Linked DNA regions of Homo sapiens: region 2 is linked to region 1. Evidence: promoter capture Hi-C in 16 types of primary human blood cells and fetal thymus (Javierre and others, 2016). All regions are on one chromosome and are shown on one strand. Each heading gives the region's core, a stretch centred on a gene start or on the middle of the fragment in contact. The rest is flanking DNA. Distances are from core to core; before and after follow the strand shown. Region 1 holds the start of SH2D4B (SH2 domain containing 4B). Region 2 has its middle 530 kb from the start of LINC02655.

Region 1 (5,873 bases), core at 3,357-5,856:
GAGAATCGCTTGAACCCGGGAGGCAGAAGTAGCAGTGAGCCGAGATCACACCACTGCACTTCAGCCTGAGCAATAGAGTGAGATTCTGTCTGAAAAAAAAAAAAAAAAAGATAGAACTGACAGGTCCAAACAGGGAAGCTTCCTGGGTCAGTAGTGTGGACATGTGTCCTCAGTCCTGTGTCCCCTGGTCACACCCAGCTCTGGCCCTGAGAACCTGGGATGACTGAGTAAGCAGAGAGGAGTCCACAGGGTTGTGAAGTTCATAATTCCTAACACAGGATGTGCATTCCTGTGGTGGCCAAGGAGAATGAGGAGAGAACGAGCTTGCACAGGTCGTGGCCATGCTAGAGGGGTTTGACTGAAGTCTTGCTGGGACATAATGTGATAACATGCCTTCTCTGAGTCTCAATATACTCAATATACTGGACAACGAACTTTGTCAGAAACGTGATAGCACAATAAGCATGATGTTAGATTTAAAAAACCTACCAAGCTGAGGGGTCCACACCATCCACCACAGCATAGAACATCAGAGGGTTCTTGCCAAAGCGTAAAGTGAAAACAGAAAAGAAATGCCATGTGCTCAGAGGAGTGATGTGTCCAGCCGTGCCCTCATCTCCTCTCCTTCCTACCTTTCACAGTCCGCCTCTAAGCTTTCACCCAAGCTTACTTCTGTGGGTTCCAAATGTGGATCTCAGAATCAAGAAAACCTCCTAGGTTCTGTAAACGAGAATGATTCACATCACCAGTGTTTACTCGCACCCTCACCAGGCACAACTCCGGGGCTGTGAGGTTCTCAGGCACAAGGCACACCTTGTCCTGCCTGCCTGTCTGTAGGGACATGGGGAGTGTTACTTGAGCCCAAGGGATGGCAAAGCCAGGCTTGCCAGGAGCGAGGAATGTTCCCAGAAAAGAGGGGAGAGGGAAGGCTTTAGAGCACTGGGGACGATGGCCCGGAGGAGGCCCAGTGTCACTCTAGGCTGACCAGGACTAACCCACGTCATGCTCAGGGATCCCAAGGGGCCAGCAAACAGCTCAGCAGGGCTACAGCAGGTGCTTCCTTCAGAAAAAAAATGTGTAGGGAGGGGACCAGGAAAGAGGATGCCTGTCAATGAGACAAGAATAGCACTGGGTGGTCACAGGAGCATGGAAAAACCCAAACAACAGCTAAAACAAGAACAAGACAAAGAAACAACAAGATAACAGAAAACCCAAAGGAAGAGAGTAAAAACAGCTGAAATCCCACTCAGGGTGACTTGTCCATGGCTCTTCTGGGCAAACCCAAAGAAGGGAGAAAGGAGACAGTAACCCAGGGGGTTCCCTGAAATCTCCTCCTCTTCCAGAACACCTAATAATTGTTCCATCCCCTAATTAAAGAAACACCCATAAAATTAGAAACCCAGACTCTGCTGGGTGTGACACGTTCTCATGAGCACGCCCGCACTTCTCTCTCAAGTGTGTACTTTCGCTTCTCACTAACAGTTTCTTGCCTTTCCTATCATTCTGACTCATTCCCGAGTTCTTTCTCAAGACAGTTTCAAGAGCCTGGACATCAACTGGGGCTGGGGTCTCACCAGCATCTGGAGAGCCTCCTGAGTCCTCTGGCAACATCAAGGGAAGGAAGAGAAGATTCCTCCGTGGAGCCCGTCCCCGCACAATTCCCGCCCTGGGACACGGCACGGCTGCTTTGAACCAAGCCTCACCCTTGGCACTCGAGTTGGCTGTGTTCCCTATGATCCATCTACCCACCGTCTCCAGGACAAGCACTGCCCCATTCACTGAAATCAGCACATAGTAATGCTGGATAAGTGAATGAATTGGTGAATGAGTGAACAAGTGAATGTGTGCACAGCTCACTTGTTTAATTGGAGTTCCGAGTTTGGAAGTGAATGAACAGAAAAAAAATCAGTCACCAGACCCCAGATCCAAGTCATGAGATGTAGCAGCTGGATGACCTTGGATGTAGCGCATCACTTCTCTGAGCCTCACCTTCCTTATCTGCAATGAAATCAGGGAGCTTGCCCTGCCACCCCGCAGGGACACGGGAGCAGCAAGGGCTGGGTAGGCACCCAGTCAACGTAAAGCTCACAAGTTGTTGCCACCCTTCATCACGACCCCAGGACATGAAGCAGATACTGTATATCCTGGACCCTCCGGCCGAAAGCTCTTCCGGCTCCTGGGCAGGGCCAGCCCCCAGGCTCCCCAGTGGCATGCCCAGACAGTTCCAAAAGGCAGGACCGAAGCAAAGAGCCAGGATCCAAGCGGGATCCTGACCTGGGATACACACATTCCTCGGCGTGCTTTCCTGCTTTTCCATTCTTTATAAATCAGAAAATTAATTACCAGAAAAAGGATCTTCTGCACCAGAAACTCAAATGAGTTTAATGTATAATTTATACATGAAAATGTAGATGTCTATGTGTGACAAATCTCTGTATAAATATTTTTGCAGTTAAATTTTTAGGCATCTGTCTCCCTCCAAGAAGAGTCATCATGCAGGCATCATGAGTCCCCAGGGCTCAGGCCGGGTGGTGCTGGCAAGGTGGCTTGTCATTTCACCAGTTAGTGATGCAGCTGCCAGCGCAGCCCAGCCCGGAAGGCCCCAGCTTTGGCAGCAGCCACCTGCAGCCAAGTCACAGCTCTGCCCCAACCTCCCCGGCAGGGTCCTGCTGTGTCTTGTTCAAAACAAGGATTTAACACCATGTGCCACCTCTGTGCTGGGCCCAGGGGAGGAAGATAGAGTGGAGGAAGCCCTCACACACCAGTGCCTTTGAGCCCATCGGAGAGCCAGGCAAGCAGATGAGGAATGACAATGACAGGGTGGCAAATGCCAGGGCAGGCGTGGGTCCTACATGCCAGGCAGCCACAGAGGAGCAAGTACTGCCCTATGCAAGAGCATCCCTGAACACTCCAGGGCAGGGGGGCCACTCCTGATGGAGTCTGTCAGGTGGATGAAGGCAGAAGGACATTCCCAACGGTGAGAGCCACTCATGTGAAGACCAGAGACAAGAGCAAGCATGTCCAGATGATGTGGGTGTGGCCTGTGGCACCTGGTGGGGACTGGCCAGCAGTGAGCCTGGCATGGAGAAGAGCCAGATCACCAAGGGAGCTGTGTGCTCAGCCCTGAAACAGGACTTTGTTCTGGATTGAAAACTTCAAAGGGTGAAGGCACATAAGCCTTGCAAACTGTAAAGTGCATGCAGCATCCACAGAAACTACAATCCCTGGCAGGATTGAGTCCTGTGCCAAGCCAAGCCTCAGCAGCCTGCCAGTTTCTGGCCCAGGGGTCCTGGATGATTTCCTTCACCCACAGGTGTACCAGTCCATAGGATTGACTGGCACATGACTTTGCATACAAAACACCTGAAATGTAGGCTAGGCCCTTGCTTCTCATCTGCAGTTGCTACGACCATTTGGGGATGGTCATTCATTGTGTGGGACGTTCCCTGATGCCCTCTCTCCGGATGCCCAGTGGGGCTCCAGAGACAACCCACAGCATCCTCCTGCCGGAGGATCTGGAGGGAGAGGCACAGTCCACAGAAGGGGCCCTAGCCAAGAACTGGTGTGCCACGCATGCCAAGGAGAAAGGAACTGCATATCTACACCACACTCTGGCCCAGAACCAATGGCAAGGGTCACAAATATGCCGTCGTTCACCCTACCATTGCCAACCACGTCGGAGCACAATCTGAAGTCTCAATGGTGTCTTCCCAGAACTCGGGCCTTCCACAACAAGACAAAGCAAGTCCCAACTCCCCGACTCCAATAAGGGCCGCTGGACAGCCTCTGCAGCAGCCTCGAAGCCCTAAGGTCCTGGCCAAAAGGCAAAAGCACAGGCTCATGGGACCTGATGCCCACAAGACAAGGGTTTCAAGCCCCCAGCCCTCATCACCCCAGTGCCCATCTTGAAGAAGGGCACAGCCTGGCCCTGCTAATTTTTCTACCTCCTGGGGGACTGGTGGCCTACCTCTCTGTGACTCCCAGCCACGTACCTCGCTTGGTCTTTGGAGGCCTGAGACCCTCGTCCTGGGCCAGGGCCTCCCAAGTCTCCCGCTCCTTCCAGCGCCTCAGCTGCTCCTCCCGCATTTTGTAGAAGAGGATGTGCTTCTGCACATCGCTGAGCTCGGCAAGGAGCTCGGGGTCGATGTACATGTCGTGCAGGATCTGCTGCAGCATGATGCCACCTGGGATGCACGCACCAGAAGGGCAGCCAGCAGGGGAAGCAGGGCCAGGCAGAACGCCCGAGGGGCTGCTCTGCACTACGGACTGCTCAATCCGGGGCCACTCTCGGTGCCCCTTCTCTGTGCAGCATTGTCAGTTGGCCTCAGCTTGCAGCCAGCGACGAACTCATCTCCTCTACCCAGGACAGCAAAAGAGGCCAGGCAACAGGACCCAAAGGGGCAGGTGGGACTCTGCAAGGGGGAGCAACCACCAGGAGCAATCTAGTCCTTCTCCTGGGTCACCAAGCACGGCATCCCAGGAGAGCCCATGTCTTGGCATCACCTGGGGTTCTGAGACAATGGGAAGGGCCCAAGCCTCCAGCTCAGCCAGGAAATGCCCAGTCCCAGCCCTGCCTGGGCTGGTAGGTGTCGAGTGATCTGTTAGTGGAAGGTAACAATGACACCAGCTATATCAATGACACTGCCCCGGCCAGCTGGGAACTGATCTCTCCTCTGCAGATAAGAGGAGGAGAAGGAGGCAGACTTGCCTACTAAATTCCATGTCTTTTCAGCCAATTTCAAACACAGACCAGAGGAGCCTGCCAGAAGCTGCTGGGCCCCTCAGCCCTCTCAGCCCCTCTCTCTGCGGGTTCCTTCGCTGCCAACTTTCTTCCTTTCCAGAACATTTGGCATTCTGAGATGATGCGTTTAAAACTCTGCCTTGGGGGAGGAAAGATTTTTCCTCCTATCTGTGTTACAGCCAAGAAAGAAAACAAAATGGAATCAGTAGAGACAACTGGAGGGGATTTTATCTTGGAATTCCAGGACAGAAAGGAAGCAGACATCCTTTCCCTTTGGCCTATATATAATGAGATCCTGCAGCCATGCGTGGCTGACAGATAAACCCTCCAGGGGCCAGTTTTAATGGTCGTTGTTAATCTTGTTTGTTGCAGATGCCTGGAGTTGACCAAAAAGAAAGAAGATGAAACTGGCTCTTCTCTGTGCCCTGATCAGAAGCACACTGGAATGGCGGGATGTTGCCTTCTGCTGGGAGGGAAGCCACCCTCTCTTTGGTGTGTGAAGGTGGGTAGAAGCTGCCGTTGCTGAGATCTTTAGGGTGAAAGCTCACCCTAAATATGTGCTCAGAGCAAATCACAGATGCCTTCTTATTGGGACAAGGATATTGAAGCTCAGAGAAAGTAAGTGGCTTGCCTATGGCTTCCTAATGGACAAGTCACTGTATTGGGACTCCCCCGTTTTGAAATTTGACATCCACTAGCAACTATGAATCTGTTGATGGTTTGAAAACATAACCCAACCAAGGGAAAACAAACGAACCAACAGGATTTGGCACTGTGGCTTGGTTGGATTGGTGACCTTCCTGTCCCCTTCCTTGCCCATGAGGGTGGAAGGTGGATCAGGTACCCAAGAGTGATGGAAGAGGGGTGGAGAGTTGGCATTCTTCCCCCTCTGCAAGGTTAACACAACAGGAAGATGGACTAAGCAGATTCAGATGAGCTGTAAGCCCATAGGGTCAAAGCTCCTGCTCAGCTAGGCAATGTCCAGGTCACAGGAGTGGAGTCAGACGCCCCACCCCTCCCCACCCAGGTCCAGCTAGCTGGTCCCAGTGTGCCCAGACCTTCCTAGAGCCGCCACAGGACTCGCCTGTCCGCTGCAGAGCTGTGGCCCTGGACTCCCATCCACCCACCTCAG
Region 2 (5,591 bases), core at 353-2,852, 640 kb before region 1:
TTGCAATCTTTAAAGCGCAATGTTTATTTTTTATTTTTAAATTGAATGCTAATTTTGCATTGTATGCCATCCATTTTAGACGCCATGGATGTTATCTTCCTTCAGAAAAGCTTAACCCTGCCCTCTAGATGGCAGTACAGCAGCAGATCATCTCAATGGAGCCACAAATTTAGCTCATTCAAGGCTGCTCTGCAGCCTTTGAAAGGACATATTTATTTCTGTTTTCCCCTACTCCTACTAAGTGACCTTCCAGGAGTCCAGCGAGTGTTTCTGAGGGCCCCTTCTTTTTTTCTGAGTTCTGAATTCAAATATCTGTCTTCCTTGCACCGTGACATTGCCAAAAATTATTCTCTTTTTTTATGCTCCTTTGTGTTTGGCTATTTTGTCACTTGCCCTTTGAAGCTTAATTACAAATGACTAAAGGAGAAAATCTATGTTAAGTATTGTTCTCACTTGCCTGCAGTTGCCTTCTCTATCAGATCTTGGCCTTCTAAATTCTGGTTGTTTTGGCAGCCCCAAAATGCAATTTTTTTTTGTCTCGCAACTCCGTAGGTTGCCTAAAGCTCTATTAGCTTCTCTATCCCTTAGCACTGCTCTACACCTAGCTCCTTACCCTCTTGCCTGTGATAAGATTTGGATAACGCCTTGAGAGATTCTCATTAGCATACAGGAAGTTGGTTTATCTCAATAAGCTTCTCTCCAGGATATGGCTTCTCAACTCCTGGCTGCCTTGCCAGCTCAAAGCTGATGCCTTTAAACAGATTACTAAAAACAAACAAACCTATTTTATGCAGCTTTTCTAGCTGTCTTCAGTGGGGCCTTAGTCTCCTCCAATCTATTTGATTATGGCTGAAAACATAAGTCCATCAGAGTATTTGTATTTTGCTTGTATTTCAAACCCCATAAAACATCATGAGTATTATTTTTAATAGTAAACATTCATTTTATATTTACCCTTCCCATTATTTTTCTTCCTTCCTGTATTTCTTTGTTTCTATTTGGGATCCTACTTTCTTCTGCCTCGAAAATATTTTTTAATGTCTCTTTTAATGTAGTTCTGCTGATAATAAATTCTATCAGCTTTTATTGATTTGAAAATGCCTTTTTCACATTAAATTGGAAGAATATATTATTTGGGTATTAAATTGTATGCCTACAGTTATTTTCTTTTGGGACTTTATATATCTCATTTCTTGTGGCTCATGCTCTTTTCACTGTGTAATTGGCTGTATGTCCTTTGTTGACGTTTGAAGACAATCTGACATTTTTCTTTAAATGGTTCTAAAATTTTTCAATATTTTTTATTTTCAGCAATTTGGCTACGATATGCCTTAGTAGGATTTTCTTTGTAATTACCCTGCCTTTTTTTTTTGTTTCAGCTCATTGACTCTATGACTTTATATCTTTTATCAGATTTTAAAAATTCTTAACCATAATCTCTCCCAAATATTATCTCTCTTTTTGCCTTGTGGGTATCCAATAGATAAGAAAACTTATCAGTATATTCCACCTAAGATATTATAGTCATTATTATATTTTTTGACTCTTTTTTCTCCATGTCTTACTTTGAAGAAGTCCTAATGCCCTATTTTCCGGAATACAAATCTTCTCTTTAGCTATAAATAACCTGCTATTAATCCTATATATTGTATTAATAATTTTATTTGTCATAGTTTTCAATTCTATAGTTCTTCATCCTGTCATTTATTTTTCTGAACATATTTATCAGTTGTTATCTTAAAAATATATATCTGACAACCTTGTGAATCTGTTTTTATTGTCTGTTTTAACTTATTCTTGTTAATTAGTTTTCCAGGTAAGTTTACTGGTTCCTGTAGAAAGTAGAAAAGTTCCTCTTCAAAGCTCATCTTGATTTAAAAATAAAATAATAGACAGTAGGAATAATAGCTTCTTACTCTAAAGCCTTCTATCAACTATCAGTTCTTATACTTTAGCCCAATTAGTTGCTTTGGCTTACTCAGGCGTGTCCAGACAGGCCCAGGCAAGTCTTAGCTCATAGCTGATGCTCCTTCCTTATTTGGAAATGTTATTGCTTCCTTAAACCTTTCATAAGCAACTTCCTCTCCTTCTTTGTTTGCACTTACCTATTTAGGAAAGTTTCAGGTTGTTAGCAAATCGGGTATCAGTTTAGGACTGTGAGGTCCAGCTCCAGCCAATGGATGCAGGACACAGAAGTAAGGACAACCAAAATGCTTAAGGGATAAATATGTCTGCTTTTCCTTTGTTCAAATGTGCTCTCGCTACTGTTCCATCTGTGAAGGGCACCCTTTCTGCAGAAAGTAAAGATTGCCTTGCTGAGAGATCCTTTGTCTCTGTGCTGACTTTTCTTCGTGGCACCGATTATCTGTTTCCAACAGTTCCTAAACATTGTGTATTAAAAAATAAGAGATTACAGATAACGTATTTTTCCAGCAATTTTCTGTACATATTAGCAGGCTATTAAAGTGAAAGTAGATCATTTTTCTACAACCAAACTTGGTTTTAAGCTTTGTAAGTTCTAGTTTCTTTCTGATTTACCCTCAGTTTTACAGTGTGATCTTTCAGGGACCTCAAGTGAAAGCCTGGAAATACTCCACCTGAGAGTGCTCTAAGTTCCAAGTTTCTATTTTTGACAGTGGAAAGAGACTGCTAAGAGCTGAAATTAGGAACTTAAACTTATATTAGTGTTGGTTTTGAGGATGTTTTAAGAAGAGAAGCCATGGACGTTTAGCTGCCCAGAGAGCTTTCCTTTTCTCTGAGATCTTGGCGTCTCAAATCCTAGCTACCTTGAAGATACCATCAAGAAAATTTGTTGTTTTTAAAACTAGCTTTCCATTAATCTTCTGAAGAATGGTTGATCTATTATATACAGCTAGTGCATCATAGCCATAGGCTCATTGCTTCTTTTTGAAAAAGCCATTGTATAACTTCTTTTCATTGTTGTTCTTCAATATCATCATACTTTACATTTTAAAATGCTTTATGGAAAATATTTTCAATATTTAATTCATTATCCCTCATTATTGTCAAAGTGTACTCTACATGGTAACCATGCTATGATTGTACTATGTATGTGTAAAAAATGTTCTTGATCTTAGGAAATAGAAATTAAAGTTTTCCAAGCATATTAGCTGCTACTTTTTCATCACTCTCTCCTCTCCTCTTGGTCTTCTGGAAATAATATTCTGGAAAATACACACCGACACATATACGTGTGTATACACACACACACACACACACACACACATATACATATATGTATATATGTAGAGTAATCCCTCAGTATCAGCAGGGCATTGGTTTCAGGACCCACCACTTGAGGATACCAAAATTCACAGACGCTTAAGTTCCTTATATAAAATGGCATAGTGTTTGCATATAATCTATGCCCATCCACCCTTATATTTTAAATCACCTCTAGATTACATACAATACCTAGTACAATGTAAATTCTATGTAAAAGTTGTTATACTGTATTGTTTTAAAAAATAAGAAGAAAAATAGTCTACATGTTCGGTGCAGTTATTCTTTTTTTTTTAATCCCCTAAGTTTTTATCTATGGTTCATTGAAATCTAAACTATATCTAAAATATAATTATTAATATATTAACTATTTGATACATTAATGTTATGCAATTAATTATGGCATATAATTAAAAATAACATTATATTAGTTTTTGGAAAACATGTATAGAGGGAAGCCATTATAGTTGTTATATAATTGAATTATATTATTTACATATAGATAGGACATAATATATTATAATTAAATACTAACATATAGTATCAGTATCCTGAAAAAATATTAAACATATATACATAGAAAGAGCATGCACAAAGTAAAAAAGTGGGATAAAAATTAATAATGGAAAGATCTGTGCACTGTCTTCAAAATTTTTCTGTGTAAAATTATATCTAAAAAACTGGGGAAAATATTATATTTGTCTATACTTTAGATTTTTTAATGTAAAAAATTGACTTTGTGGAGGTGAGATCTGATATGTAAGTAATATTCATGGAAGCAGTATGTTTAAAAATTTATTTTATTAAAAAGTTAAGTTTCCAGACGAGTGCAGTGGCTCACACCTGTAATCCCAGCACTTTGGGAGGCCGAGGCGAGCAGATCACGAGGTCAGGAGTTTGAGACCAGCCTGACCAACATGGTGAAACCCCATCTCTACTAAAAATACAAAAATTAGCCGCGCATGGTGGTGTGTGCCTATAATCCCAGCTACTCAGGAGGCTGAGGCAGGAGAATGGCATGAACCTGGGAGGCGGAGGTTGCAGTGAGCCAAGACCGCACCATTGCACTCCAGCCTGGGCGACAGAGCAAGACTCCATCTCAAAAAAAAAAAAAAAAAAAAAAAAAAAAGTTAAGTTATAAATGGGGAATCTTTTTCAAACAGATGATTTAAATTACTTTCTATTAGATTAAATTAATTGTTCATTTTGCCTTGAATTGTTTCCGTCTTATTTCTTTAAACAGCTACCATTGTCTCACTAATACATTGTAGACACAACACTTAAAATTAAGCCTGCTATTGACTCAGGCCAAGTCAGTTTATGCTCAGCTTGAAATTAACATATTCTGTTTCATTATGTCCATTTGCAGACTTAATGAACATGTTTCTTTTTCACAAATAATTTCTTAAACTAATTCAGTTTCATCTTCTGTTTATTAATTTTTCAATAACTATTAATTGTGGGAACATTATAGCACATTAATAGTAAAATGAATAAAGCAAAAATTCCTATAACCCCCTAAAAACCGTTTTACATCTTCATTTCAGTTTCCTTACAGAGTCTTCAAAATGCTCACTGTTTGTTGATGCATAATGTCCCATCAGGTTGTTGCTCCGTAGTTTACTTAACAACTTTCCTTTGCTGGGCATTAGGTTGGCTTACAATTTTTAACAATCATGAATAATATCTCACTGATTTTGATGCAACCTACATGAATAAAATATAATTTGAAATCTTTGTAAATATGCCTCTCTTGGGAAAAAGCGCACATTCTTCTTCCTTTACTAATATTCTTATAACATTAAAACATGGTGTGCTGGAAATGATGGATGGACAATTTTGCTGCACCTCAGAAAAGCTCTCAGCATACTGAGGTCAGTGTAGAAAAAGAAAACTGTTAATACAGGCTTTATTTTGTTGTTATAATGTGTTGGTATTCATTGTAATTGAGGTGTAACTTAACATATCACATTATATATGCATCTCCAATATTATATATCTCATATTTAATGAGGGATTTTACACATATTTAATGAGGGATTTTACACACCTCATATTTAATGAGGGATTTTATATATCTCATATTTAATGAGGGATTTTACACACCTGGAAAATGAGTCCAAGCATTGTTTGAGAAATTTTGAGCAATGTAGTTGAATAAAAATAACCCAAACCCTGGCCGGGCATGGTGGCTCACACCTGTAATCCCAGCAATTTGGGAGGCCCAGGCGGGAGGATCACCTGAGGTCAGGAGTTTGAGACCAGCCTGACCAACATGGTGAAATCCCATCTCTACTAAAAATACAAAAATTAGCCAGGTGTGGTGGCAGGCACCTGTAATCCCAGCC

The links. The method cuts DNA at HindIII sites, captures the fragments that hold promoters and counts their contacts. A CHiCAGO score of 5 or more calls a contact.
Region 2: a fragment that was not itself captured here is called in contact with the fragment with the promoter of SH2D4B in region 1 in 1 of 17 cell types (M0 macrophages); the score reaches 5.7 in M0 macrophages.

The regions. Positions count from the first base shown.
Region 1 is chr10:80,536,635-80,542,507 of GRCh38, reverse strand. SH2D4B (SH2 domain containing 4B) reads right to left here and starts at 4,606. Exons shown (of 8, transcript NM_001388272.1): 1 at 3,993-4,606. The coding sequence starts at 4,176. RefSeq lists enhancers at 1,046-1,165, 1,336-1,395, 1,546-1,725, 2,763-2,902. The HindIII fragment of the contact is 17,935 bases long and covers 668-5,873 here.
Region 2 is chr10:81,174,552-81,180,142 of GRCh38, reverse strand. No RefSeq gene overlaps it. Among named protein-coding and RNA genes, the nearest start is that of LINC02655, 530 kb to the right of the region's middle. RefSeq lists an enhancer at 1,325-2,524. The HindIII fragment of the contact is 1,815 bases long and covers 695-2,509 here.